Regions from separate parts of the Homo sapiens genome. Here all the other regions are linked to region 4. Evidence: promoter capture Hi-C in 16 types of primary human blood cells and fetal thymus (Javierre and others, 2016). All regions are on one chromosome and are shown on one strand. Each heading gives the region's core, a stretch centred on a gene start or on the middle of the fragment in contact. The rest is flanking DNA. Distances are from core to core; before and after follow the strand shown.

Evidence for each region. The method cuts DNA at HindIII sites, captures the fragments that hold promoters and counts their contacts. A CHiCAGO score of 5 or more calls a contact.
Region 1: a fragment that was not itself captured here is called in contact with the fragment with the promoter of ZNF621 in region 4 in 5 of 17 cell types (non-activated CD4 T cells, total CD4 T cells, activated CD4 T cells and 2 more); the score reaches 9.3 in non-activated CD4 T cells.
Region 2: a fragment that was not itself captured here is called in contact with the fragment with the promoter of ZNF621 in region 4 in 1 of 17 cell types (total B cells); the score reaches 5.8 in total B cells.
Region 3: a contact is called between a fragment that was not itself captured here and the fragment with the promoter of ZNF621 in region 4, in 1 of 17 cell types (total CD8 T cells). The highest score is 7.5, in total CD8 T cells.
Region 5: a fragment that was not itself captured here is called in contact with the fragment with the promoter of ZNF621 in region 4 in 1 of 17 cell types (total CD4 T cells); the score reaches 5.2 in total CD4 T cells.
Region 6: a fragment that was not itself captured here is called in contact with the fragment with the promoter of ZNF621 in region 4 in 1 of 17 cell types (total CD4 T cells); the score reaches 6.1 in total CD4 T cells.
Region 7: a fragment that was not itself captured here is called in contact with the fragment with the promoter of ZNF621 in region 4 in 3 of 17 cell types (total CD8 T cells, naive CD8 T cells and total CD4 T cells); the score reaches 6.4 in total CD8 T cells.

The regions. Positions count from the first base shown.
Region 1 is chr3:41,946,584-41,950,323 of GRCh38, reverse strand. All of the region lies in intron 2 of ULK4 (unc-51 like kinase 4), which reads left to right. Among named protein-coding and RNA genes, the nearest start is that of ULK4, 14 kb to the left of the region's middle. The HindIII fragment of the contact is 1,985 bases long and covers 1,489-3,473 here.
Region 2 is chr3:42,204,933-42,208,546 of GRCh38, reverse strand. The region is part of intron 13 of TRAK1 (trafficking kinesin protein 1); the gene reads right to left. Among named protein-coding and RNA genes, the nearest start is that of CCK, 59 kb to the left of the region's middle. RefSeq lists enhancers at 2,049-2,098, 2,339-2,418. The HindIII fragment of the contact is 2,470 bases long and covers 890-3,359 here.
Region 3 is chr3:42,107,038-42,111,055 of GRCh38, reverse strand. The region is part of intron 1 of TRAK1 (trafficking kinesin protein 1); the gene reads right to left. It overlaps LOC124906231 (a long non-coding RNA gene), which reads right to left. Exons shown (of 2, transcript XR_007095889.1): 2 at 1,714-4,018. Among named protein-coding and RNA genes, the nearest start is that of TRAK1, 18 kb to the right of the region's middle. The HindIII fragment of the contact is 1,786 bases long and covers 398-2,183 here.
Region 4 is chr3:40,523,053-40,526,856 of GRCh38, reverse strand. ZNF621 (zinc finger protein 621) reads right to left here and starts at 1,897. Exons shown (of 5, transcript NM_198484.5): 1 at 1,583-1,897; 2 at 993-1,078. The coding sequence starts at 1,016. RefSeq lists enhancers at 1,416-1,555, 1,115-1,927, 2,206-2,295 and a silencer at 1,856-2,015. The HindIII fragment of the contact is 8,303 bases long and covers 1-2,896 here.
Region 5 is chr3:42,172,194-42,176,363 of GRCh38, reverse strand. The region is part of intron 2 of TRAK1 (trafficking kinesin protein 1); the gene reads right to left. Among named protein-coding and RNA genes, the nearest start is that of TRAK1, 83 kb to the right of the region's middle. The HindIII fragment of the contact is 1,558 bases long and covers 553-2,110 here.
Region 6 is chr3:42,086,883-42,091,028 of GRCh38, reverse strand. It overlaps a transcript of TRAK1 not described here. Among named protein-coding and RNA genes, the nearest start is that of TRAK1, 2.4 kb to the left of the region's middle. The HindIII fragment of the contact is 9,137 bases long and covers 1-4,146 here.
Region 7 is chr3:42,024,946-42,028,593 of GRCh38, reverse strand. It overlaps a transcript of TRAK1 not described here. Among named protein-coding and RNA genes, the nearest start is that of TRAK1, 65 kb to the left of the region's middle. RefSeq lists an enhancer at 3,338-3,648. The HindIII fragment of the contact is 195 bases long and covers 1,361-1,555 here.

The sequences.
Region 1 (3,740 bases), core at 1,232-3,731, 1.4 Mb before region 4:
GGTTGCAGTGAGCCAAGATTGCACCACTGCACTCCAGCCTGGGCAACAAGGCGAGACTCCGTCTCAAAAATTAGCCGGGGGTGGTGGCATGCACCTGAGGTCCCAGCTGCTTGGGAAGGTGAGGTGGGAGGATTGTTTGAGCCTGGATGGCAGGGGTCGCAGTGAGCCATGATTGTGCCACTGTGCTCCAACCTGAGTGACAGACTGAGACCTTGTCTCAAAAAAAAAAAAAGAAAAATAAAAATAGAGTTTTGCCAGTACCTGCATCAATCAAAACTCATCAGACCGTGCCAGGTGTGGTGGCTCATGCCTATAATCCCAGCACTTTGAGAGACCAAGGTGGGTAGATCACTTGAGCCCAGAAGTTCAGGACCAGCCTGGGCAACATGGTGAAACCTTGTCTCTAGAAAAAATAGAAAAATTAGCCAGGCATAGTGGTGTGTGCTTTACTCTCAGCTACTTGGGAGGTTGAGACAGGAGGATTGCTTCAGCCCTGGAGGTCGAGGTTGCAGTGAGCCGCGATCATGCCACTGCACTCCCGCCTGGGCGACAGAGACACTGTCTCAAAAAAAAAGAAAGAAAAAAAAAAAGGCAGGTGTGGTGGCTCACACTTGTAATCCCAGCACTTTGAGTGGCCGAGGAGGGGGCAGATCACTTGAGGTCAGGAGTTCGAGACCAGCCTGGCCAACATGGTGAAACCCTGTCTCTACTAAAAATATAAAAATTAGCCAGGTGTGGTGGTGGGCATCTGTAATCCCAGCTACTTGGGAGGCTGAGGCAGGAGAATCGCATGAACCTGGAAGGCAGAGGTTGCAGTGAGCTGAGATCGTGTAATTGCGCTCCAGCCTGGGCAACAAGAGTGAAATGCTGTCTCAAAAAAAAAAAAAAAAATTCCGCTAATCTTTAAGTGTTGGACCTGGACTTTGTATTTTACTTTGCAAAATTTGTTTTTGTTTTGACAGTTTATTTTATGGAAACTTTACTTTTTGTGTGTGTGTGTGTGTGTGTCTGTGTGTGTGACAGAGTCTCAAAGTCTATCCAGGCAGGAGTTCAGTGGTGTGATCTTGGCACACTGCAACCTTTGCCTCCCAGGTTCAAACGATTCTCCTGCCTCAGCCTCCCGAGTAGCTGCGATTTCAGGTGCCTGCCACCACGCCTGGCTAATTTTTTTGTATTTTTAGTAGAGACGGGGTTTCACCATGTTGGCCAGGCTGGTCTCGAACTCCTGACCTCAGGTGATTTGCCCACCTTGGCCTCCAAAAGTGCTGGGATTACGGGCCTGAACCACCACGCCTGGCCTTAGGGTTTTCTACATATAAAATCAATCACATCATTTGCAAACAGAGTTAATTTTACTTTTTTCCTTTCCAATTTGGATGCCTTTTTTTTTCTTGTGTAATTGCTCTGGCTAGGACTTTTTATACCTTCTTGACTAGAAGTGGAGAAAGCAGACATTCTTGCCTACTTCTTAATGTTAGAGGAAAAGCTTTACTCTTTCACCATTGAGTATGTTGTTTGCTTTGGGTTTTTCATATATGACTTTTATTATGTTGAGATAGTTTCCTTCTATTCCTAGCTTTTGGAGTTTTTTTTTTTTTTTTAAAGGTTGTTGAATTTTGCCAAGTGCATTTTCTGTATTAATTGAGATGATCATGCGTTTTTTTCCCCTTCATAATGTGGTATATTACATTTTCGTATGTTCAACCATCTTTTGTTTTCCAGGAATAAACCCACTTGGTTATCGTGCATAATCCTTTTAATATACTGCTGAATTCAATTTGCTTGCATTTTGTTGACATATCTAGCTTTTACTAAGATAATAAGATATTTAGCATAGTGCCTGACACTTAATAAACACTCTTTCTTTTTTTTGAGACAGAGTCCAGACTCTTTCGTCCAGGCTGGAGTGCAGTGGTGCGATCTTGGCTCACTGCAACCTCTGCCTCCCCTGTTCAAGCGATTCTCCTGCCCCAGCCTCCTGAGTTGCTGGGATTACAGGTGCACATTACCATGCCCAGTGAATCTTTGTATTTTTAGTAGAGATGGGGTTTCACCATGTTGGCCAGGCTGCCCTCAAACTCCTGACCTCAAGTGATCCGCCCACCTCGACCTCCCGAAATGCCGGGATTACAGGTATGAGCCACTGCGCCTGGCTTAAATATTCTTTCATGATGTCTCTTACGTCACAGTCACTAATGGAACAAGAAATACATAGAGAACACATAGATGGAGAGGGAAATACCCAGAACTGGAAGAGAGTTGAGAAGAGGGATGTGGGGTCGGTCACGTGTGGGAAAGAAGGATGAGGGCAGGTTCAGCATGTGCAAGAGTTTTAATGGATATAGAAAGGCCACTGTTTTCTGTTTGCCTTATTCCTGATTTATAGAGCCTGGGGAAGCCTCTCTTTTTTCCAAGATTCATTCACTCACTTCAACACCAAAAGCGTATTGTTGAGTGTCTGCTGTGTTAGAGGGCGAAATGATCCTGTACTTTTGAGCTTATGATCTGGTAAGAAAGGTGAGATAGAGGAATCAAGGCATGTATAAACACTCCATTCAAATGGTTGTCCAAGTCCCTGCTTTTTAGGGGTCTTAGCTCTTGGAAACTCCTGTGTCCCATACCTTGCAGAAGCATTTCTACTCTTTTCCTTTGCAGAAGTTCATCATATGCTACCATTTATTGAGTATATCTAATATGTTCCAGCCAGTGTGCTGGGTGCATTCACTTCTCACAATTGCCTATGATGTCAGTATCATCCTGATCTATAGTTGGTTCAGATCTGTTGGATCATGGTACCAATGCCCCCTCTCCAGTTGAGGAGGCCAGCAGGGTAAGCCGAGAAAATAATTACATGTAAGGAAGAGTTTGACTTCATGGCCTTTTTTCTCCTCTTCTCCATATAGCATTTACCATCATGCTCCCCACTGGCTGTTCTCAGCTGTCGCGTTGACAGTCCTCCTCAGTACTTTCCCTTGCTTTTGACCTTTTCATAACCACACTTTCAGGTGTCATAATTTACCTGTCTCGCTCTGTCGCCCGGGCTGGAGTGCAGTGGCACAGTCTCGGCTCACCGCAAGCTCCGTCTCCTGGGTTCACGCCATTCTCCTGCCTGAGCCTCCCGAGTAGCTGGGACTATGCCCGGCTAATTTTTTGTATTTTTAGTAGAGACGGGGTTTCACCGTTTTAGCCAGGATGGTCTCGATCTCCCGACCTTGTGATCCTCCCGCCTCGGCCTCCCAAAGTGCTGGGATTACAGGCATGAGCCACTGCGCCCAGCCCTCTTGTTCCTTCATTTTAGGACACTGCTGGATAATGTAACAAATTCATTTTCCTTGAAGTATCATCCCCTTCTGTGATCATATTTTGATAGCATTTTGGAGTCCGTCAAAGGCTTAATTCAGGGGGGTGACTAATAGAGATTTTTCAAAGACCACAGTAGGGCCACTGTGGGAGAAATTTTCAGACAAGAAGCTTTGTGATACTTTTTAGGCTTATCAGGATCCAGAACAAATGCCACCCTCTCCTGTAAAACTTAACCCAATTAAATCTCTTGGCCCTTTGACCGCAACATGGAAACCTGATCACAACAGAGAAACTATCTCACCATGAGAATACAACTTGTGACACACACTACAAATGCTGGATATAAGGGTGGATAGCACAACCCCAGGGAAAATTTCACTACGTTGGTAAACTGATGCCTTTCCAAGTAGAACAAGTACTATTGGGAAATGTACTGG
Region 2 (3,614 bases), core at 875-3,374, 1.7 Mb before region 4:
GGGAGTCAAAGATGCCAGGAGTCGGCAGCTCAGGAAGTCAAGACAAAAGAGAAGGGAACACAGGCAGGCCGAGGTGGGAGGCGGTGGGGTGAGGGAGAGGCCGCATGGTGTGCGCAGAGTCTGCCATTTCCAAACACCCCTTGGAAATAACTTCTCATGTGTCGATCTCAGCCAGGGAGGCTTGAAAGGGATTTATAAATGAACAATTTCAAATCCACTCAAAAGGAAAAAAAAGGTGCACACTGCCAATACATGTTTAAAGAGTTCCCAGACACCCACATCAAGGCTTATCCCAGTTTTAAGGGTTCACGGGTACAATAGCAACATACTTAATTTGGATCTATTAAATATAAATAGAAAATATTCTAAATTCAAGAAAAAAAGAAATAAGAATGACTATAACGAAAGAGGGTATCACATATCCGTTCTCTCACTAGGTGCTAAGATGCATCTAGAGCGGTGTTCTCAACTAGGGACAATTTTGCGCCCCGTACCCCACTCCCCCAGGGACATTTGGTAATGTCTGGAGACACGTTTGGTTGTCACAGCTGTGGACGAACGGCATCTGGTGCTAATGGCATCTAGGGGGTAAAAGCCAGAGATGCTGCCAAACATCCCACAATGTACAGGACAGCCCCCACAACAAAGAACAAACTGGTCCCAAATGTCAGCAGGGCTGGGATTGAGAAGCCTTTCTCTAGAGCTGTGGTTCTTAACTCTCAGATGTTTCGAGAATCTGAAGGAAGCTGTGGACCCACTTCCTAAAGGAAGTGTGCATGCTAGCAACACTGTGCAAACAACGCCGGGGCTTCGCAGACCTGCAGAGACCAGTTCGTGGGCTCCCGAGTCCCAGATGCCACAGCATCACTGTGATTTTTTAAATTAAGCTTCCCTATATTGAGGCAGGCCTGCATCGCAGTTTGTTTTACATGTATTATATCAGCTCACTCCTTGAAACCATCCTAGGAACTGAGTATGATTATATACTTTACAGATAGGGGAATGGTGGCTGCCTGAAGTTAGATAACTTTCCAAAGCCACTTAATTAGTGGTGGCATAGCCGGGGTTCAGAACTAACCCATTTGATGGGTTCACTGCCCACCCATCAAAACCCACAGGTCTGAGAACAAGAAGGACATCAGTGTCCCAGCTGCACAAATGGTCAGCAGCAGAATTTCCAGATGGGTGTCCAGGGCCTGCCAGGAGATATTCCTGCTGATAGGAGTTCTCTGCTGTCCCTGCGGACTCCCATTCACACTACCTAATGGGCCCCAGTACAAATGCTCACTGGCTGTGCAGGCACATTCCTGATAACAAAATAGCACCACGAGAAGTCTTAAAGTAGCCACTGTACTGCCATGTTCAGTTTGGGACTGTACACTGGAGTCTGAGAAGGATGATGAGAAAACCCCATGTACAATATGGCCACGTCACCTCTACTTTTGGAAGGGAAAAGGGGGGTATGCCAATAGACTCTGGGAAGTGAAGAACCCTGGTAAGGAAATGCCAACCTCCTCATCCTTCTGAAGGGGGTCTGAGATGTTTACAATTCACTGGGAAAGAACCCAGGGAGGCTGGAGGTCTGGGCCCTGACAAGAGTCTCATAGGCCTTTCTCCTCCAACTGTTCAACAGGCTGCCCCATCACTCCCTCTCCTCACCCGCTCCCAAGGATGGGCTGAAGAGAAAGAAATGAGGCTACAAAGGGTCTGCTGTTTGGAGTTAAGGATGCCACAGAAATGCATGGAATTACTTGCATTCTCTGACACTCCACAGCCAAGGAAATTTAGTGAAATTACAACTAAAACATTATGTGAAAAGACGCATCATGCTCAGATTTTTATCCCATGCCTTGGGATGTAAGAACACCCATGTAAGAACAGCCAACTTTTACTGGGCTTTTACTAAGCGCCAGACACTTTTCTGAGGTCTACATTTATAATTCACTTAATCTTCACGTTATCCCTGCTGTCTGCATTCTGCAGATGAGGAAACTTGAGTACGGGAAGGGAAAGTAACTTGCTAGAGGCTACAGAGCTGGCAAGTGGCTTGACTGATCTGGGACTGAAACCAAGGCTGGCTCCAGTGTCCATTCTCTTAACTCTCAGCAGTGACAGGCCTTACACATGAGAGCCTCCGAAACCTAGTCAATAACACAACTGAATGGCTTTCTAGATTCTCATGTGGGTGCTTTCTCAAACCTGACTGTGCTATTTCAGTTATGTCATGCTATGGGGCTCATGGACTATCTCCACTTCTGGCTGGTTCCAAAGTCCCAGCGGGGTTTGCCAAACCCATCAACTGGGCAGAACACCTCATGCTTCACCTCCCTGCTGCTGCCTAAACCATCATGTGGGAATTCTACCAATCCCCTGGCTGCCTGGAGTCCTTCCTTTGACATAAGAAGGTATAAGAATTAAAAAATAAATATGAATTGCATCTTATTCAGAGCCCAAGTTACCTCTTTCTTTCCATTTCTCCAGCTCATTCCCCAGCCTGGCTTCCTTTACTTGCCAAACACTGTAATATGAGCTACCTCCCATTACCAACTCAAGACCTGCTCACTCCTCCCACCCACATTAAAACCAGGCAGGAATTAGGCAAACAGGGCAAGGAAAGAGAGGAAACTTCATGTTCCTGGTTGGCCCCAAGATAAAGTTCTATGGGAAAAGGGCACGGACAGTGGGGAAAACATGACTATGGTCATTGCGTCCTTCCCCCTCTGCTTTCCTTCCATACCCCAGTGTTCCAGCTAAAACATTTTCAAGTCATCAAAGGAGAGGAAACCCCAAAATCCACTGATGTCAGAGGAGCATCAGGGCTTAGATACTAGAATGAAACCTGCTGGATAATGTACAGCTTTGAAGTGTATCCTTTCCCTTATTTACATATTATTTATTTGGAAATGCTACCTTGGTTATGATTAAGCAGAAAGGAAGTGCAAATTACAGGAAAAAAATACTGCCCGCCTTGGTCTTTTTAACACAGATATCTTTCTAGTTTGAATGGTTTGTTTGTTCTTCACCTGCTTAAAACTGGTAAGGTAAGATGAAGAGACAAGAAAGTGCTAGCACTCTTAAACACTTAGCTTTTTGGCTTTCACAATAAGCAGATGGCAAGATTAATTCAACAGGTAACGGAGCCAGATGGAAAACACTGATTGGCTATCTGCTATGATCTCAGCCAACAGTCTCTAGGGACCTCACCCCAGGTACATTTACCTGGGCTGCTGGTGATTATGGGAATCTTACTAGCTTCTCAGTGGGCCAATAGAAAAAGATAATTTAAGAACATGACCCTAGTGCTGGTCCAGATCTCAATACTAGTAACTCAGCCCTACAGACCTGGATTGGAGCAAGCTTGGGAAGCCAACATTTTAATAAGCACCTATTAGATGCCAGGTACAATATAAAATACTTCACATTTACTCCTCACCACAGTCTGGTCTGATGGCTATCAGCCTATTTCACAACCACAACTAAATAGGAAACAGGGCTCAAAAAGTGGGGTGATTTATCTAATGTCACAGTCAGAGCTGTACTGAACCTAGCCCAGGCTGACTTCTGTGTCAGCATCCCATCTTATCATATTAAACATGGTAACACAAAAAATAACT
Region 3 (4,018 bases), core at 41-2,540, 1.6 Mb before region 4:
GTGGGCTAAGTTACCCCCTTGGCCCCTGGCATTTTCCACCCATCACAATTTGTAGTCACTGATTTAGTGATTGATTACCAGCAGTCTCTGTCATTGGACTACACAGCTCCAAGAGGGCAAAGACAGGGTCTGCTCAGGGCCAGAGCAGACACTGAATAAATGCTGCAGGATGGAATGAGCAGCCATCTGGTTCTTCACAAGCACCTGCAGTGCCCTGCGCTGGGAAAATCGACCCTCACAAACACTGAGCAGAGCGGCCAGGACCTTCACTGAACACCTGTGGGAGACCTGGGGCTTTTGCCAAAATGATGCCTTTCTCCTGGTCACAAAAATACACAAGGCAAGACTTGCTTTTCTGTCTTCTACTCCTCTACTCCCTCCTGGGCCACAAAAAGCTTGGTTGTCAAATGGCAAAGCTCACACCCCACCTATAAAAGGCAAGGGGCTCAGCCAGGACAACAAAATTCAACACATGAAGCTGAATTGGGCAAGGGAAGTCAGAATAGTGTGAATGTTTACAACCCTCAATGGGAAAAAAGCCCTTCAGCTCTTATGCTGCAAAGGCAGGAGGAACCCTTTCAGGACTACTTCATAGGAACTTAAAAAGCTCTGTGTGTAGGACTCCATCCCCAGAGAGGAGCACCTCAGCCTTGCATGGCTCTCAGCTTACAGGGGGCTGTATTTTCTCCTGTGCTCACCTTAGCAGAAGCCCCAGATCCATCAACCCCCACCCCTCAACACACACACATACACACCCCACAGCCTTTCCCTCTATTGTTTGTGTGGCTCCAGCCACAGCCGGGAACTGCCCGTCTGGGCTATTCAAGTTATCCCCACATGGACAGTTTTTATAAGTGTTCTGGTTACAAAGTTGCATTACTCCTGGTATTTTTAGTGTCCAATTTTGCAACACACACAAAGTTTATATATATATATATATATATATATATATATATATATACTTTAAGTTCTAGGGTACATGTGCACAACGTGCAGGTTTGCTACATATGTATACATGTGCCATGTTGGTGTGCTGCACCCATTAACTCATCATTTATATTAGGTATATCTCCTAATGCCATCCCCCCCGCCACCCCTACCCCATGACAGGCCCCGGTGTGTGATGTTCCCCATCCTGTGTCCAAGTGTTCTCACAGTTCAATTCCCGCCTGTAAGTGAGAAAATGCGGTGTTTGGTTTTCTGTCCTTGGGACAGTTTGCTGAGAATGATGGTTTCCAGCTTCATCCATGTCCCTACAAAGGACATGAACTCATCCTTTTCTATGGTGGCATAGTATTGCATGGTGTATATGTGCCACATTTTCTTAATCCAGTCTATCATTGATGGGCATTTGGGTTGGTTCCAAGTCTTTGCTATTGTGAATAGTGCCACAATAAACATACGTGTGCATGAACACACACAATGTTTTCAGGAACAAATACACAGTTAAAGAATGCCTGTGTAAAGTTTAATTTTGCACACTCAAAGCGATCAGTCATTTTCCTTATAGTTCTAGCCTTTATACCATGTTTAGGATGGACTTTCCCATCTCAAGATTAGTAAAATATCCAGCAATATTTTCCTCTAGCACTTTCACAGTTGAATTTTTAACATTATATCTTTTCTTTCTATTTTATTTTAACTGCTGTTTGCTGAGCAGGGCTAATTCACAGGCAGTGTGCCTAGGGTAGCAGCCAACATTACATCTTTGAATCACCTTTTGAACCATCTGGATTTTATTGGGTTTGATGGAGTTATGCAGGGATCCAGTTGCACTTTCTTATAATGATAACAAACACATCAGTAATAATGGTAAACACTTATGGAGTGGTACCATAAGCACTTATAAGCATTTACATCCATTAACTCATTTAATCCTCCTAAGAGTCCTAACATTTATCCCCGTTTGACATAAGAATGAATACACTACAGCACAGAGAAGTTGAATACCTAGACCCACATCACATAGCCTGTAAATAGTGAACCGGTTTTCTAACAGAGCCTGAACTCGGAGGTCAAAATCCTAACCACCACTCACGCCTGCCCCTGGCCCCAAAGATCCTGACCTCACTGATTAAATAATCCCTCCTTATAACTCTTCTTTCTCTAAATTTTCTCCTAGCCCAACTTCCAGTCTTTTGCATACTTTGAGAATTTCTTAAGCAAAGCACATAGATAAAGCTTCACTTTTTGACCCATTCTGAGACTTTGCCTTCAAACAGGAGCATTATGGTCAAATTGGGCAAGACTCATCTTACTATTGTCATGCCTCTTGGTGGTTCAACTTCTGGAGGTTTCATCACTTTGCTGTCTTTTGCATTGTAGAGTATGTGCCACCAGATTCTTTTTTCTCCTAGTGATTTAGAACAGAGCTTCCACAAGCAGTGCTGGGAATGGAGGGTGCCAGGTAGTGTCCGGGGTGACCATCAGCTAAGAACTACTTCCATCATTTACCCATCATGCTATGCAAATACCATTGTTTTCTTGTCAGGGTCATGATGTGGGTTAGGTTAGGGAATGCTAATGTTGAATGTTTGAATCTTTTTTTTTTTTTTTTTTTTTTAAAGGCAGGGTCTCACTCCTGTCACCCACGCTGGAGTGCAGTGGTACGATCACAGCTCACTGCAGCCTCAACTTCCTGGGCTCAGATGATTTTCCCACCTCAGCTTCCCAAGTAGCTAGGACTACAGGCAGGCAGCACCACACTTGGCTAATTTTTTGTATTTTTAGTAAAGATGGGGTTTCCCCATGTTGCCCAGGCTGGTCTTGAACTCCTAGCTCAAGGGATTCACTTCACTTGGCCTCCCAAAGTGCTGGGATTACAGGCTTGAGCCACTGCCCCCAGCCTGCATCATATTTTTAATTATAGTCAAGGAGACATGGTAGACACATGGTGGCCATCCGCTATCCATACTCTTCTTAGTATCAAAGCTCTGAGCCCCATGGAAAAACTACATTTCTTAGCCTCCCCTGCTGCAAAATGAGACTACAAGGCTAAGTGTTGGCCAATGAGATAAAAGCACTGGTGTGAGAGCCTTTCTCAAAGGCTGCCTTCCCTACATCCTGGAATTCAGACATGATGGCTGGAGCTTCCGCAGCCTTCTTAGATGTGACATGACCTTAAGGATGGAAACGACATCTAGTATGGTAGAACTGAAGGACAGGAAGAGCATGGAACCCTGGGGACAGCAGGGCTGCACCAGTACTGCACAGTCTCCCTCTGAACTTCTTATACTTTAGAGAAAAATAAATTCTATAATGTGAAGCCACTGTTCTATACAGCCAAACTTAATCCTTACTGATACAGATAGTTACCTTTAAAGGTACTATCTGTACAGGCAAAGAGGTTAACAGACCAAGAGGTTACAGGCTAAGAGGTTAACCTGTATTTTCCTAATTATCCACAGCAAAAATAGAATAATCTTTTTGCACTTAATCTCACCCATCTCCCTCCAACCTCTTGGGTTTTACTGTTCTAATCTGGGAGTTCAGATGAAGTTTCTTGTTTATAAATAATTAATTTCTTTTTTTTTTTTTTCTTTTTTGAAACGGAGTCTTGCTCTGTCACCAGGCTGGAGTGCAGTGGCACAATCTTGGCTCACTGCAACCTCCGCCTCCTGGGTTCAAGCAATTCCCCTGCCTCAGCCTCCCAAGTAACTGGGACTACAGGCACGCACCACCACGCCAGGCTAATTTTCGTATTTTAGTAGAGACGGGTTTCCTCATGTTGGCCACGATGATCTCAATCTCCTGACCTCATGATCCGCCCGCCTTGGCCTCCCAAAGTGCTGGGATTACAGGCATAAGGCACTGCGCCCAGCCCAAATAATTGATTTCTTAGACTTGCTTTCTGTTGTCCAAAAACATTTCTACCCAATGTTTATGATTAGACTCTGTAAGGCTTTCAAGGTAGCCTGAGCAGCTGCCAGAGTTCAAGGCCCACATCCCTCCCCCTGTCCTGACTGTCCTGTCTTCCCCTTCAAAGGTGGCTCTAACTAGGGGACAAGCAAAGTTAGCT
Region 4 (3,804 bases), core at 648-3,147:
AAAGGACAACACTTAATATCTTCTTAATTGACCAACACCTTTCTACCATCAATTTGCCACTAAGGGCTAGGAAAATCTTTTTAATATGTAAATCCAACCATGTCATCCCCCTGCTTAAAATTCTTCAGTGCCTTCCCAATGAACCAGTACAGAAACCACTGTCCTCACCATGACCTATAATACAGGTATCTATTTCTTCCATCTCATATTGAACCACTTTCTCTGACCCCTTCCAGTTTCTAGAGTACATCCAGCTTTCTCTGCAACTTCAGAGTCCTTGCATCTAGCATTTAGAAAATGTATATTAAAGCAACAATACTAGTCTCTCTGGGATACATACAATACAATTTGTGGGCAATCTCTCCAATAAAGAATTTCTGATTTCAAGCTAGTGCGGTGGCTCATGCCTATAATCCCAGCACTTTGGGAAGCCGAAGCGGGTGGATCACCTGAGCTCAGGAGTTCAAGACCAGCCTGGCCAACGTGGTGTAAACCCCGTCTCTACTAAAAATACAAAAATTAGCCACACGTGGCGGCGCACATCTGTAATCCCAGCTACTTAGGAGGCTGAGGTATGGGAATCACTTGAACCCAGGAGGCAGAGGCTGCAGTGAGCCGATATCATAGTGCCACTACACTCCAGCTTGGGCGACAGAGTGAGACTCCGTCTCACAAAAAATGAGTCTGATTTCAGTAGGTGACTTTCATTTCTAGAACACGATCTGGATTTCCACATTCAGAAAGAATTTCTTGGTATAGGTCCCCTTTCTTCCATTTAAATCTATACATCCAAACTCATCACTCTCTATACACAAAACTTTCATTTCCCCAGCACATATTTACATCTGCCATAGCCCTGGAGATAGATACAAAGGGGAAAACACAGCTTGGCCAAGTTAGGCCTTCCTCATCCTTTCCTGATTATCTGATAGCTAATGTGAGTAAAAAAACATAAACAAACAAACAAAAAAACTGAAAGAAGCTCAGCTCACCTGAGGCCAAGTTGTTTGGAGCATGGCGGATGTCCCCTGGCTTCATGCACTGTCTTCTGGGTTTGGACAAGCAAGATCCTCAAGAGCTAAGAGAAAAAGAGCCATGAGTGCTAAGGACCCTGTCGTCCACCACCTACAGCAACCTATGGCCCTCCCAGTTTCCACATTTCCAGCACTGGATGCACGGAGATTCTACTAGGACTCCCTCTAATTGTTCTCACGCTGATAGCCCCAAACTTCTTATGAATTGTTCTGCCTAGTCTTCAGGACAATCTTCCACCTGCCTGCTCAGTCCGAAGAGCTTTTTTTGAGCCCATTCGTACGGGTAAACTGAGGGACCCAAGAGCCCTGTCCCTATTGTGTTGGGTCTCTACAAACGTAAAGAGTCTTTACAGAATGCTTACAGGGACGATGACGTGGACCCAAAAGAAAGAACCTCAGGAGAAGAGGGACTGGGGTGGCTGAATGCGGATTAAGGGTAAAATACTCAGCGTCCCAGTGGGTGATGCTGACCGGAGACCCCACCCAACCGTGATCTTAACACTCCACCCAAGAAAACAGGCAACCCCAAACATCAGAAACGTCAGTACCGGGAGCCAGAGGCTGTCAGGGCAAGTTCTTTAGGGCAGAAAAGAGGATCAGGCCTCGGTGGCAAAGGGCTGGACACGGGCTCTAGAAGCCCGAGCAGCCACCTTGACGGCTTCGGCGAGGCCCAGATGCCCACGGTCCGGGTGAAGGAGGGGCGGGCCGCCATTGGGACCAAGTTCAGGGGTAGTGGGGGCTGACGAGCCGCCAGGGGCAGCGAGGAAGCCGGCACCGGGCGGACCTGGCACGTAGAACTCGCTGAAACCCACGCTCTGCAGAACGCCGAGGAGCTGGTCACTAACTAAAGGCCGAGCCGGAAGGGCGAGTGCACGCCCAGGGTCCCTCTAGGCCCCCGGAGGCCGCCATCTCGGTCGCCCCGTGGCCAGACCCGCCCCGCCTTTCATGGCTGGCCCCGCCCTGCGGAAGAGGCGAGGTTGCGGCGACCGGCTGGGCTGAGAGGCCGGCGGCGGGCGTGGAACTGTGGCGCTCTAAGCCCGGCTTTCTCCGGCAGCCGTCGGCATCGCCTCTGGCTGGAGTGTCACGGACTGATACAGCCTGGCTCTACCGAGACCTCGCCCTCTAGGCACAAGTGGGCCCCCAGTTCACGGGCTGCGCCTCAGCTGTTGGCCGCCTTGGCCCCGTGGCTCACCTGAAGCCTGGGCCGTGCAGGTGAGGGGAGAATGGCGCCTGCTTTGTCATCTCTAAGAGGCCCAAGCCCAGGATCTTGCTTGGGTCCTCAGCTGGGCAGTCCTCAGGGAAACCATGGTTTCCACTCGCCGTTTTAGCCCTCTCCCTTCCAAGGACCTAGATGTGCGTAGAACCTTTTAGGACAGATTCATTTAACAACCAAAACACCCGTGGCTACATACAGTTGCTAGGCATCCTGTATACACAGGACATGTCCTATATTAAATGATCTTGTCCTGTGTTGACTTTGGGAGGACACCCTAAATGTCTTATATTTAGCTTTTTCCAATAAATTACAAAAACTCGTAGTTACAGCTATTTTTCTGCTCAGTAACTGGCACTTAAATAAAATGTTAACACCAGCTGAAATATATATATCTCATACTTCCATAAATAATGATCTGGACAGACCTTTATGGTCTGTTCTGTTAGTTGGACTGCAGGAAGAAAAAACAGTGAAGAGGGGAGGCTGCTAATTAAAAGAACTTACTTTTCATATTCAGGAAAGGAAAAGACTGTTTTTTGACCAAAGTCCCAAGTCACTAACAAGTACTTGCCATTAATTTACATAATTTTAGATCAGTACACGTACTCTGAAAATCAACCAGTACACAACAGCCTCACTCCAAGCTTCTGAACATGAGCCAGTCAGTGATAAACACTTCCCGAAGCCAGCCAGTGGCAGCTCTACCCAGCTCATTGGCAAGTACCTCACTACTGTGCCCTTCCTTCTGGACAGGAGCCTTTCTCCAGTATCAAAGTGGTTGCTAAGATGGACAGACTTTGTTTTTTTTTTTTTTGCTTGTTTTTTGTTTGTTTGTTTTTTTGAGACGGAGTCTCGCTCTGTCGCCCAGGCTGGAGTGCAATGGCGCAATCTCGGCTCACTGCAAGCTCTGCCTTCTGGGTTCACGCCATTCTCCTTCCTCAGCCTCCCGAGTAGCTGGGACTACAGGCACCCCGCCACCACGCCCAGCTAATTTTTTGTATTTTTAGTAGAGACGGGTTTTCACCGTGTTAGCCAGGATGGTGTCGATCTCCTGACCTTGTGATCCGTGCACCTCGGCCTCCCAAAGTGCTGGGGATTACAGGCGTGAGCCACCGCGCCCGGCCCAGACTTTGTTTTACTTTAATCACGCTGATAACTTCTCCTGAACACAGTTCCAGATACCAGGCTCCTCACCACCAAGCATTTCCATGCTATAAAGGGGAATTGGTCTCCCACCACTAAAAGATAAAAAATGATCCTGGATATCTAGATATATTGCTTTATTACAGGGGTCCCACTTCTTGGATTTGTTATTCCTTTCTTAAGAATTAGACTGACTTATGAAGTCCTATTATGGAGAGTATCTTAGGTATCTACTGCTGCATAACAAATCACCCTAAAACCTTATGGCTGAAAACAAAACACACTTATTATCTCTTAAAGTTTCTATGAATCAGTGAACATAGTCAGTCAGTCCTAAAAAGAGAAAAAGGAAAAAAAAAAAAGGTTCTGTGGATGAGGAATTCGGGAGTGGCTTGGCTGGATGGTACTGGC
Region 5 (4,170 bases), core at 82-2,581, 1.7 Mb before region 4:
GTTGGCATAATTATTAAACAATAGTCTTAAACTGATAATTTCATAATGGCATAGCCCCCTCCTCCTCAAGTGGCCTACATTCTAAGGTTATGCAACCAGCTCCATACCATGAAAACTAGGTTGTTATTTTTTAAATATACATTAAAAAGACTACTATGATTGCACACACACACACACAGAGTAATATTTCATTACATGTACAATTTACTGTGGTCATACAAGGCTGCACACAAGCACTTTAGGACTATGGGTCTTTGTTCTTCTTCCGTTGGAGAAATGGGTTGTGAAACAAAAGAACGCTTTTGTCTGCTAAAGATACATCAGGGTTGTTTTATTTTAAATCAGTGACAAGGAACTGATTCGCCGCTCAACAAACACCAAGAAGGTAGCGTAAGTTTTATTCTATTGGGGGAGGAGTGAATATAAATGGATTTATGGCCAGCCAACGTGCAAAATTTTTTGAAACCTGTCACTTTGGGACTAAATAAATAACTTCTTAGTAATGTTTTGTAACTAAGACTTCAGTGAATAATTCTGTTAAGAGTCAAAGCTTTCCTAATGACCCACATTCAGTAACAGCCCATGCGACACATTTGGGAATTGAAGTGTATTACTAAGTCAAACTCAGCAGCATTACAAATGGCAAACAGCAACTGGAATTCAATAGGTCTCTGAATATTTTATTAAATGCAAGTAGAGATCATCCTAGTAAATTAGCTCAGAGAAATCGGATCTGTTGGAATGATTTTCTAACTTAGGGAGGAGACCTGAAATCTGGTTCTAAATCTGAAACCCTACCAAGACAGTGCCACCAGAGCCAGCAGACAAGACCCCTCCACCCAACACTTTCATGAGATCCCTCCTGTCCAAGCGTGGGGGGAAATATGCTGCCTCAGACAGAGCTGCCAGGGAGGGAGAAGCAAGGGAGATTTATAAGGGTAGCTTTAAACCAGGATCTAATTTGATGTAGATGAAGTCCAGCTCAAATTGCTCTAGATAGTCCATCAGCTCGAGGTCACACAAGTGCTTAAGTGAAGACTCCTATGCTACCAACCCGAGTTAGTCTTCTTCACGCACAGCTGTGATGGTCTGCAGGCGTGCAGATACAAACCCTGGGGCCCCCCAGCCAGCACGCCAAAGCATCTGCAGCACCCTTTATACACCAGGTAACAGACCACAGCAACTAAGTGGTCTCTGTGTTTAAATTTGTGTTGTCACTTGAGGGCCTGCTTATCCCCACTCACCGGCGCCCACTCTCCTCAAAAAACTGAGTCCTCTGCCTTCCTGGAAAAAAAGAAAACTGGGCTACCTTTTAACTAACCTGGCTCTATTATCTGTACAAGAAGATTCAGAGCTGCTATTTCTCTAACACTATATTATTTAGAGATAATACTCAAATTTTTAAGGCTAAGTTTTTGAATTAAGGTAACTGTAATTATTCAGATAGTCAGTCATGTGTAGATAACCACAAGCAGACAGAAGAAATAACACAGAGGGGGCCGGGTGAGGTGGCTAATGGCTGTTATCCCAGCACTTTGCGAGGCCAAGGCAGATGGACCACTTGAGGTTAGAAATTCGAGACTAGCCTGGGCAACATGGCAAAACCCTGTCTCCACTAAAAAAAAAATTTTTGTATATATATAAAATTTTATATATATTTTTGTATATATATAATTTTGCATATATATAAAAATTTTGTGTGTATATATATATATACACACAAAAATTAGCCAGGTGTGGTGGCACACACCTGTAGTCCCAGCTACTCGGGAGGCTGAGGCAGGAGAATCACTTGAACCCGGGAGGCAGAAGTCGTGCCACTGCACTCCAGCCTGGGCAGCAGGGCAGGACTCCATCTTGAAGAAATAATACAGAGGGATCCTGTATACCCTTTATCCAGTTCCCCCAATGGTAACATTCTGCAAGATCATAATATCCCAACCAGGATATCAGCACTGATACAATCCATAACTTTTCCTCAGAGTTCCCGTTTTACTTGCACTTATTTGTGTGCACATGTGTGTATTAAGCTCTATGTAATTTTATTACCTGTGTTGGTTCATGTATCTACCACTTACAAGGACCCCTTGTGTTGCTATTTTATAAAGCTTTAAAATATTTTAAAAATTGAACCCAATAAAATGCACACCTGTCTCTACTAAAAACACAAAAATTAGCCAGCCGTGGTGGCAGATGCCTGTAATCCTAACTTGGGAGGCTGAGGCAGGAGAATTGCTTGGACCCGGGAGGTGGAGGTTGCAGTGAGCTGACCTTTACTAAGCACAGTGACCATGGCCAGGCACCATTCATAACCCTCTATATGGATTATTTTATGTAATCTTCAGAGCAATACTATAAGGGGTAAGCACTTATATTAACACCATTTTACAACAGAAAACTAAGGCCCAGAGACGCTGAATAACTCACCCAATGTCACACAGCTAGCAGGTGGCAAATGTCAAAATAACAGACTCTCGGTAGAGGTAGCAGCTAACACCGATGGTGCCCCTATCATGTCAAGGGATTTAACATGCTTTCTCAATTAATCTTCACAACAACCCTGCAGGGTAGTCGCGATGACTACTCCACAGATAAGAAAACTGAGGCTCTGAGACATTAAGAATCTGGATGTTAAGGACCCCACTGAGGTCACAGAGAATGAGGCTGCATTGCAGAGACTGCACCGAGGCCAGTCTGGCTCCTGTACTAAAACGGAAGACCATAAAGGACACGAGAGCAAGGCACAAACCATCGATGTGTAGGAAGTGTGTAAACAGAGCGAGCAGCATTTGGGCCTAGGGGAAAGAAAGAACCCTGACCTTGGGTTCAGAGGCTTAGGTTTTCTCAGGAGACTCTATCCAAGCCAAGGGGCTCTGAGCAGCCACCAACTAACTTCTAGGTTTTAGATTTCCTGTTCCAAGAAATAAGGAAGCAAGAGTGAGACCAATGAAGGTGAAAAAATAATAAACCATGCCTTCAGACAGCATAAACACAGGTTATGCTTTTCAAATACCAACTTCCTAGGCACTAAATCTTCAATCAACCGTGGTCAAGTTTCTCTCTCTATAAGAATGTATTTCAAAGAGAAGTTCCATTTCTGACCCAAGGAGTGCTACCAAATAAATCCACTTCCACCCAAAAGATGTTTCAAAAAAGAAAGAAAAGCAAAATAAAGGAGCCACCATAAACCTCTACGATAATTTTTTTTTCTTTTGTTAGAGACAGAGTCTCGCTCTGTCGCCCAGGCTGGAGTACCATGGCGCAATCTTGGCTCACTGCAACCTCGGCCTCCCTGGTTCAAGCGATTCTCCCACCTCAGCCTCCCAAGTAGCTGGGATTACAGGTGCCTGCCACTATGCCCAGCTAATTAGTGTATTTTTAGTAGAGATGGGGTTTCACCAGGTTGGCCAGGCTGGTCTCGAACTCCTGACCTCAGGTGATCCACCTGCCTCGGCCTCCCAAAGTGCTGGCATTACAGGCATGACCCACCGTGCTCAGTCTCTATGATAATTTAATATAAGAAAATTATGGTCCATCTCCTAGAAAAAGAAGTTAAATGCAACTTGCTGCCTACCCACCATAGTAAAATACACACGCCTCACCTCTGACTAACACCAAACAACCATTACCACGCACCAAGCTCTGCACTGAACAAGGCAGGACACCTGCCCTCCTGGGGCACACAGAAAACAGGGCAGCCTGGAGGATGGGGCTCAGGGGGTTCGAAGCCTGACAAGTAGCTTTAAGAAGGGTGGAATTAAATGGAAAACCACTAGAGAGTTTTTGAAGGGGGGTTATGCAATAAGGTTTATATTTCAGAAGCATTTTGGCTCCAGTGTGCAGCAATGGGGGAGGGGGTGCAAGGCAATTTAGATTGACAAGCATTGAGGCTGTTGGATTAATGCAAGGAAATTGTAGGTGGCAAGGAGTGGGCTCTTATCCTGAGATTTAAGAACTAAAACTGAGTGGGAGGTAAATCAAAAAGCACTGATCAGGGCTTCTCACTGGGACAACAAGGACAAGAGTGATGTCCCCTTTCAAGATGGGCATGAGATGGAAAGTCAGAGGCAAGATGCGGTGCCCCCAAGAAACCACTGGCACTGGGACAGTAGTTGATGTCACTGTGTAATAATGTGCCAGGCAGAGGGCTGCCCACAACCCACAGTGGCA
Region 6 (4,146 bases), core at 339-2,838, 1.6 Mb before region 4:
AAAGCCCTGGGAGGCCACAGATGCATTCTTGGGGATAGTCTAGGTCTCTCGGAGAACTTTTTTCCATTTAATGTCTTCCTTTCAATGACTGCCTAATAAAACTTTAATCCGAGCATGTTCTCCATCACCTGACAGCCCATCCCTTAAACGCATAAGAGTGTCTGTGTTTACTCTCCTGTTTACCAAGCCAGTGCTAAACACAACAGCACCGAGCTGTTTCTCAGCTTTCCTCTGGTCCCAACAAAGAACCCCCAAGTCACCACATCCTATAGGGTTTGAAGTTTCAGCACTACATTCTGCCACTTCTTTGTTGTGTTTTTTGTTGTTGCTGTTTCGTTTTGTTTTTTTGAGAGAGTCTCACTCTGTCGCCAAGGCTAGAGTACAGTAGCACTGTGTCAGCTCACTGCAACCTCCATCTCCTAGGTTCAAGCAATTCTGCCTCAGCCTCCCAAGTAGCTGAGATTACAGGCGTCCGTCACCATGCCTGGCTAGTTTTTATATTTTTAGTAGAGACGGGGTTTCACCATGTTGGCCAGGCTGGTCTTGAACTCCTGACCTCAGGTGATCTGCCCGCCTCGGCCTCCCAAAGTGCTGGGATCATAGGCGTGAGCCACCACGCCCAGCTGTGAAGTTTCAGCGGTACATTCTGCCATTTCTTTACCCTCCACTGTCACATTCAAAGAAAGTGAAAGCACTTTAACAGGCTGGATGCTTCCTGGATTTCACTGGTACAGATGCCACTAGAATCCCAAGGATCAATTCATGTGTTTGGACAAATGTAGATGCGGTTGGGTCATCGCCTCCTCCACAAAGCCCTCGTGGTCTTCTCCTGTCCTTTCCCCTCCAAGGTTCAGCCTGGCACCCTCCTTGGTGCCCTACTGTGCTGTGCTTATCATTGTGCTAACCTCGGTGTACAGCCAATTTCTACTCACTCATCTGTCTCCCCAACTAGACTAAATTCTTAGGCAGCAAAGAACCCTTGCCCTGGGGTCCTACAGACCTGGATGCAACTCCTGCCACTCAGGAGTTTCACCAAGGTGCTGAACCTTTCGAGATTTAGACTCTTCACTTACACAAAGAGGATAATAGTACTCACTGCACAAATTGACACAATTGATACACCCAACAAATGTTCACTGAGCGCTGGCCACAGGCAGGCACTACGTTAGTCACTGGATTCAGGAGTGTGCAAAGTAGACACAGAGTTTGCCCTCCGCGACTTTAGTCTACTGCAAGTTTGGGAGACAAAACACAAATACAGTAGTTCAGCAGATGGTTAAGTTTGGGGGAAAAAATTAAACAGGAAAGGGAGATGGGGAAAGGTGAGGCAGATCACTCTGTATTGGGGGGGGGTCACAAAAAGCATCAAATAAAATGTCACTTGGAGAAGGAAGAGGGGGTCATAAGGATATCTGGAGTTAAGGCAATCCAAAGACCCTGAGGCTGGATGTGCCTGGTGAGTTCAAGGTTAAGTGAGGCGGCCAGTGTACCTGGAGCACGGAGGGCACAGAGGAGGCAGGTCAGCGGGGCAAAGAGGGATTCCTGTCATTCAGCCCCTTCCTTACAGGTCTCTATAGAAGGGGAGCTCACTGGAAGTTTGGAGGAGAGTTAAACCATCTGATTGTATTAAAAGCCAACTCTCATGGTTGAGCGGAGAAAGAATTTTAGGGAGGCAAGGGTAGCAGTAAGAGGCCCCACTGGAAGGCCAGTGCGGTCATCCAGGTGTGAGATGGGGGTGGCTGGGACACAGTAAATGCTGGGTAGATTCTGAACATACTCTGAAGATACAGCCAACAGAATTCTTGACAAACTGGGGTATGAATCGCAGAAAGGCAGAATCACAAATGCCTCCAAGGTTCTTGGCCTGAGCAACTAGAATAATGAAAGCACCATTTACAAGGATGGGGAAAACCCTAAGAAAAGCAGGTGCAGGTGGAAACCAGGAGCTCATTTTTGGTCATTTGAGTTTGACATGCCTGTTAGACATCTAAGTGGAAACTCATGTGGAGTCAGTCTGAGACATCTGGCCTTAAGGAGGAAGGGCCAGGCTGAGTACAGAAACCACCGAGTGGCCAGTACAGAAGGCGATTTTAAAACCTGTGTGCTGGGTGAGATCAAGTGCTGCACAGGTGCACACATAAGAGCAAAGAGGCGGAAAGGCTGGGCCCCGGGCCCTTCAACGTTCCCAGGCTTGGGAGAAGAAGAAACGCAGCCACTGAGGCAGAAGAACAGGGAGAGTGTGGGGACCCAGAAGCCAAGTAAAGACTGTACTTCCAGGACACAGGACTTGGCAACAGTGTGAACTACCACTGAAAAGTGAAGTAAGGTGAAGGCAGAGGACAGACCCCTGGACTGAACCAGGCTGTCAGTGTGGTGGGGCATGAGCCTGCCTGCAGTGGACTCCAGAGAGAACAAAAGAAAAACTAGAGTAAGCAAACAGAAGAGCAGAGACACTGGCCTGCGGGAAACACGGGACTGAGAAGGATTCTATTTCCGAAGAGGGAGATCATAGCATGTTTCTGCACTAATAAGAAAGACCCAAGTGCAAGGGGAAAAGAATGATGCAGTAGAGAAAAGGGAGATGTTGGAACTGTGTCCTTCAGGGGGCAGGCAAGTGGGAGAGGGACTCAGTCACAAGCGGAGGACAACACATGTGGGCCACTTAACAAAAAGGGAGAGGAGGTGTGTGGGGGCCTAGCACAGCAGCTAGGCACCAGGCTGGGACCCCCGGCTTTCTCTGTGCCTTTCTGTATCCAGGAAACCCCTGACACACAGGAGGTCCTCAAGGCTTAACTGGTAACACAGAACCAAGAGAAGCTACTGGAAGCCAACTTGCATATATTAAGCTGTCATCAGGCATTACTTCAAACAGACAAACAAAAGCAAACACTGCAGACAAAAATGAGAAATTAAGCAAACTTCTATATGAATGCAACTGGATTGAGCTATAATTTTGCCACTTGCTGCTGTTATGCACACCATCCTACACCATTTCCATTGAGAGCCCTCTCTTGTGCTAGCTTCAAGCACTTGTCTCAATGCTTCCTTGGGGAAAATAAAAAAGCAATAGCTCTACTACTAAGTGCCCGCACAGATGTTAGGTGATTACCACCTGGGACACTGAGAGTTATGACTGACACAGGTATCTGTAAAAATCCATGTCTGTGCAAATCCTGATGGTGTACAAAGGGCACTCCATGTAGTTTTCTGTTTTTGCATCCCACAATGACAGTGCATGTTATTCCCACTACACCTGTCTTATATCTGAAGAAGCTGAGTGCAAAGAGAGAAGGAAGGGTTCAATACACTGAGTGCCTGTGATGGGCCATGCTTGCTGCTCAGGTTTGGATGTTACCATCTTTAACCTTCATGACAATTTAGTGAAATGCTGTCTACCTCTCAGTCAGGATAGTAGGTCAACAACTGACACAAGTTACAAAATGGTTCACTGGCAGAACAGGTTCTGGATTGGAGGTCTCACAATCCGAAAGCTCAGAGTCTTTTGCACTTTGGTGGTTCCTCTCCACATACCTCCCCAAGACCCTCCCATGTGGCTGCATTCCTTCCCTAGTCCTCAGTGACTGAAACCTCCCTCCCTTCCTCCCTGGCAGGGAAAGGGCCCCCATACCAGTAATGGTGCAGGCATCCCGGTACCCTCTGTAGCTGGGAGCATCTTCCACAGCCTCGCTTATGTAGTGTTCCTCAGGGATGCCCAGGCTGCAGGCTAGGACTGCATGGTTGCATGCCTCCGAAGGGGGCACGGAGTTGGCCAAAGTGTCGTCGTGCAGAGCTGTGGCGTCCAGCTTGGCAGGTTTCACGGGGAGGTGCCCACTGCCATCGGGGGCCCCACTGCCAGAGTCTGGGGCAGTTGGGCAGATGGCCCCCGGTAGTTCTGGTGCACCAGCAGGGGCTCCTTATAGGGAATCTATGGGACAATTGAAAGAGAGGGGCACAGTTAGAGTCTATCGATAAACCTGGACAATCTTTAGAAAATGAGGGCCCCGGGATGACGTGCGTTCAGACTGCGAATTCTGAAACGCGTTTCTCTCAAGTCAAGGCATCTCCAATCACATTGCTTAGTTTCAATAAAATAACTGCAGCAAAGTTCCATTCAACTAATCAATATTGACCAAAATGTGGAGCACA
Region 7 (3,648 bases), core at 209-2,708, 1.5 Mb before region 4:
CATGGCTCAATCCCCATTCAATCTCTGCTCACCTATAACCTCCCTAAAGACACCTCTGCTGCCACCTCATTCTCTCCCCTAGTCACTACCTGGTATCATATCCTACATCTATTACTACATTGGGTCTCTTTGGTCTGCCCCCAGACCTGGACTGTCTCATTTACTGTCATAACTCAGTGCCTGGCCCAGGGAAGCCACACAGCTCACACTTAGCAATCACTGATCTAAGTGGGTCTCCAGCTCCCCATTCTGCCAGGAATCCCCTGACTCTAATCAAAGGTGATTCTTACCTGCGGAAGACCTGTAAAATCAGAGTGAACCATGTATTTCCGGAATAAACATAAACCACTCAGCAACTCTACTGGGGAGCAGCATGTAAACACGTGGCCCACGGCCTGGTGTTCCGGCACCTGTATCCACTAGTTTGTAAGAACAGAGGCTGTGGCCGGGGGTGGTGGCTCATGCCTGTAATCCCAGCACTTTGGGAGGCCAAGGCAGGTGGATCACCTGAGGTCGGGAGTTTGAGACCAGCCTGGCCAACATGATGAAACCCCGTCTCTACTAAAAATACAAAAAATCAGCTGGGCATGATAGCTGGCGCCTATAATCCCAGCTACTCAGGAGGCTAAGGCACAAGAATGGCTTGAACTCAGGAGGCGGAGGTTGCAGTGAGCCAAGATCGCACCACTGCACTCCAACCTGGGCAACGAGAGCGAAACTCCATCTCAAAAAAAAATAACAGAGTCTGCCATTGAGATAAAAGGCTTCCTACTTTATGATTCCCCTCCTTCAGATAAAATTAGAGAAGTGAAAAATGGTTGTTCCTGGTTTTCTTTCCCAGTCTCTGAATTCGCAGGGAAATAAACATATTAATAAATAATTAGTTACCCATTTCAGTACCTCTATTCTCATACTGGCCTCACTGTATAGTTTAGGTTTGGGGCTTTTTAAAAAATATTTTCTACAACTAAATAATGTTTAAAATACAAAAGTACTTTTTGAAAATAGATATATTTACTTTATTTTGAAGAAAAACGCCTGGATTAGAAAAGCTTTACTTTTTTTTTTTTTCAGATGGAGTCTTGCTCTGTCTCCCAGGCTAGAGGGCAGTGGCGTGATCTGGGCTCACTGCAAGCTCCACCTCCCGGGTTAACGCCATTCTCCTGCCTCAGCCTCCCGAGTAGCTGGGACTATAGGTGCCCGCCACCACACCTGGCTAATTTTTTGTATTTTTAGTAGAGACGGGGTTTCACTATGTTAGCCAAGATGGTCTCGATCTCCTGACCTCGTGATCCGCCCGTCTCGGCCTCCCAAAGTGCTGGGATTACAGGCGTGAGCCACCACGCCCGGCCAAAAAGCTTTTCTGAAAATGTACTTCTGACAGTTGTGGCCATTATTAGAGTAAGATATGCCACTAATGTATGCACATATTATCTCATTATTTTTGAAATAAAAATGATGGGGTAATTAATTTTGTGCTTAGCTATAAAATTAGTGTAAATATATCAAAATATCAAATTTGAAATAAACAGTAGGAAACAACTATAATGAAGCTTGCATCATTCTGAGATTTTATTAAAGAGTATACATTGAGGTTACATTCACATAAGAGCCCATTTCCTGTAGAAAGTCAGTCTACCAGAGCAGTTATTTAAGTAAATTTGATATTGATTATACCCTATAACTCCAAGCTAAGACATGGGTTACTATAAATATGAGGGGAGAAGGAGGGTCTACACATGGAAGCTTACTGACAAAAGTTGATCACTGGCCAGGCGCAGTGGCTCACGCCTGTAATCCCAGCACTTTGGGAGGCCGAGGCAGGCAGATCACCTGAGGTCGGGAGTTCAAGACCAGCCTGGCCAACATGGTGAAATTCCATCTCTACTAAAAATACAAAAATTAGCCAGGCGTGGTGGCACGTGCCTGTAGTCTCAGCTACTCGGGAGGCTGAGGCAGGAGAATCACTTGAACCTGGGAGGCAGAGGTTGCAGTGAGCTGAGATCATGCCACTGCACTCTAGCCTGGGCAACAGAGTGAGACTCTGTCTCAAAAAAAAAAAAAAAAAAGAGATCACTGATCTCTTTGATCACTGAGATCCAGGATAACAGCTGCAGAAGAGGTGATTAGCCAAACAAACAACACACAAATTGGTATGTAAAAATAATCGGTGCCCTGGCTAGCTTATCAGTCCATTGAGGTAAAAGCGATCCTGTACAAAAACTACCACTGTGCCAGAGGAGTGAAGAGGCAGCAAGCTAACCACGCAATTCAAAACAGGCTCTTGTCAAAAAAATTCTCTAGTATATGATCACCCTGAGACTTACCCACATTTCTTATACTTTCTATGAAATGCTAAGGCTCACTTTTAATCTAAAATAGACAAACTTTCTTCATGTGCCTCTGAGTCCTCTTCTAGTTTCACAAAGGATTAAATAAAAAGGGCCTCAAAGGACAAAAGAAGGAAGTATAGAAAGGAGGGATGGAGGGAGAGACAGGGAGAATGAGAATACAGAAAAATAGAGGAAAGCAAGAAAGAGACAGAGGGAGAAAGATAAACGGAGAAAGAAGAAAGAACAAACAGCAGAGAGAGAAACAAAGAAACAGAGACAGAGGAAGAAAGAAAAGAAAAAAGTTCATGGGAAAAAAATAGTGATGCATTTCATGGAAAAGCTATTTGTTAAAGAGTCCCTCTTTTTTCTGTGTACAGTATCATGCCATATGTGGGAAGTGAACAAGGCTGGAACACCGCCTAAGAACATCTGCCACGGACTTTAAAAGCCCTAATAATAGCACAGCTGGTGTCCCCAGCCTAATGAGCTCACCACCCACGTGACTGCTCCTTCTCCAGCAGATTCTCCAGAGAGAGAAGGCAGCCAGCAAGAGAAGCAGTCCCCGCCCCCGCCCTCCCCCACATTCATGCTTTATTTCCTCCACGGCTTTCATTCTCCCCTTCCAGAAACCACCCCTTCTCATTTTCTTGAGCTAAGTTACCCTGATCCAGCAGTCCTTTGAACAGACACATTCTTCTTTTCTCCTTCCCCTCTCCCTTTGAACAGACACATTCTTAACATGAAAGGCAAATACCAGAAATAAAATATGGGGACATCACTACAGGTCTTATGGACATTGAAAGAGTAATAATTGTGCCAATTAATTCAGTAGCTTAGATAAAGTGGATAAAGCCCTTAAAATACACAACTTATCAAAATTAATGTAAGAAGATATAAATAACCCTATACTTATTTTTAAAATGGAATTCCAAATGAAAAATTTTCTACACCACAACGAAAGGCCAGCGTGCCCCAGCGTGCCTCGTTGCCAGGGTCTGAGGTACAGGCCCCTCCAGGAGTGCTGGTCTGGGAAGTTATGTCTGACAGGAAGACTCTCCCCCTGACCAAGGCATATTGCTAGGAGGAAACCAAGCACAGCAGAAAGCGGGGCAGGGAGGACGTAAACAAAGAAGTTAGGTTTTTACAAGGTTGGCAAGTTTTAACCCCCTCTGGTATAATCTTTTGAAACTAATTCCCATCACGGTATGCTTTTAAAAGCTCTCTAGCATTTTAAGAAACTGCAACTTAGCATCAGGAAGGGAAAGAATTTCAGCTTCTAAGGGGAAGCCTAGCAGAAAGTGACAAGAGGAGACTC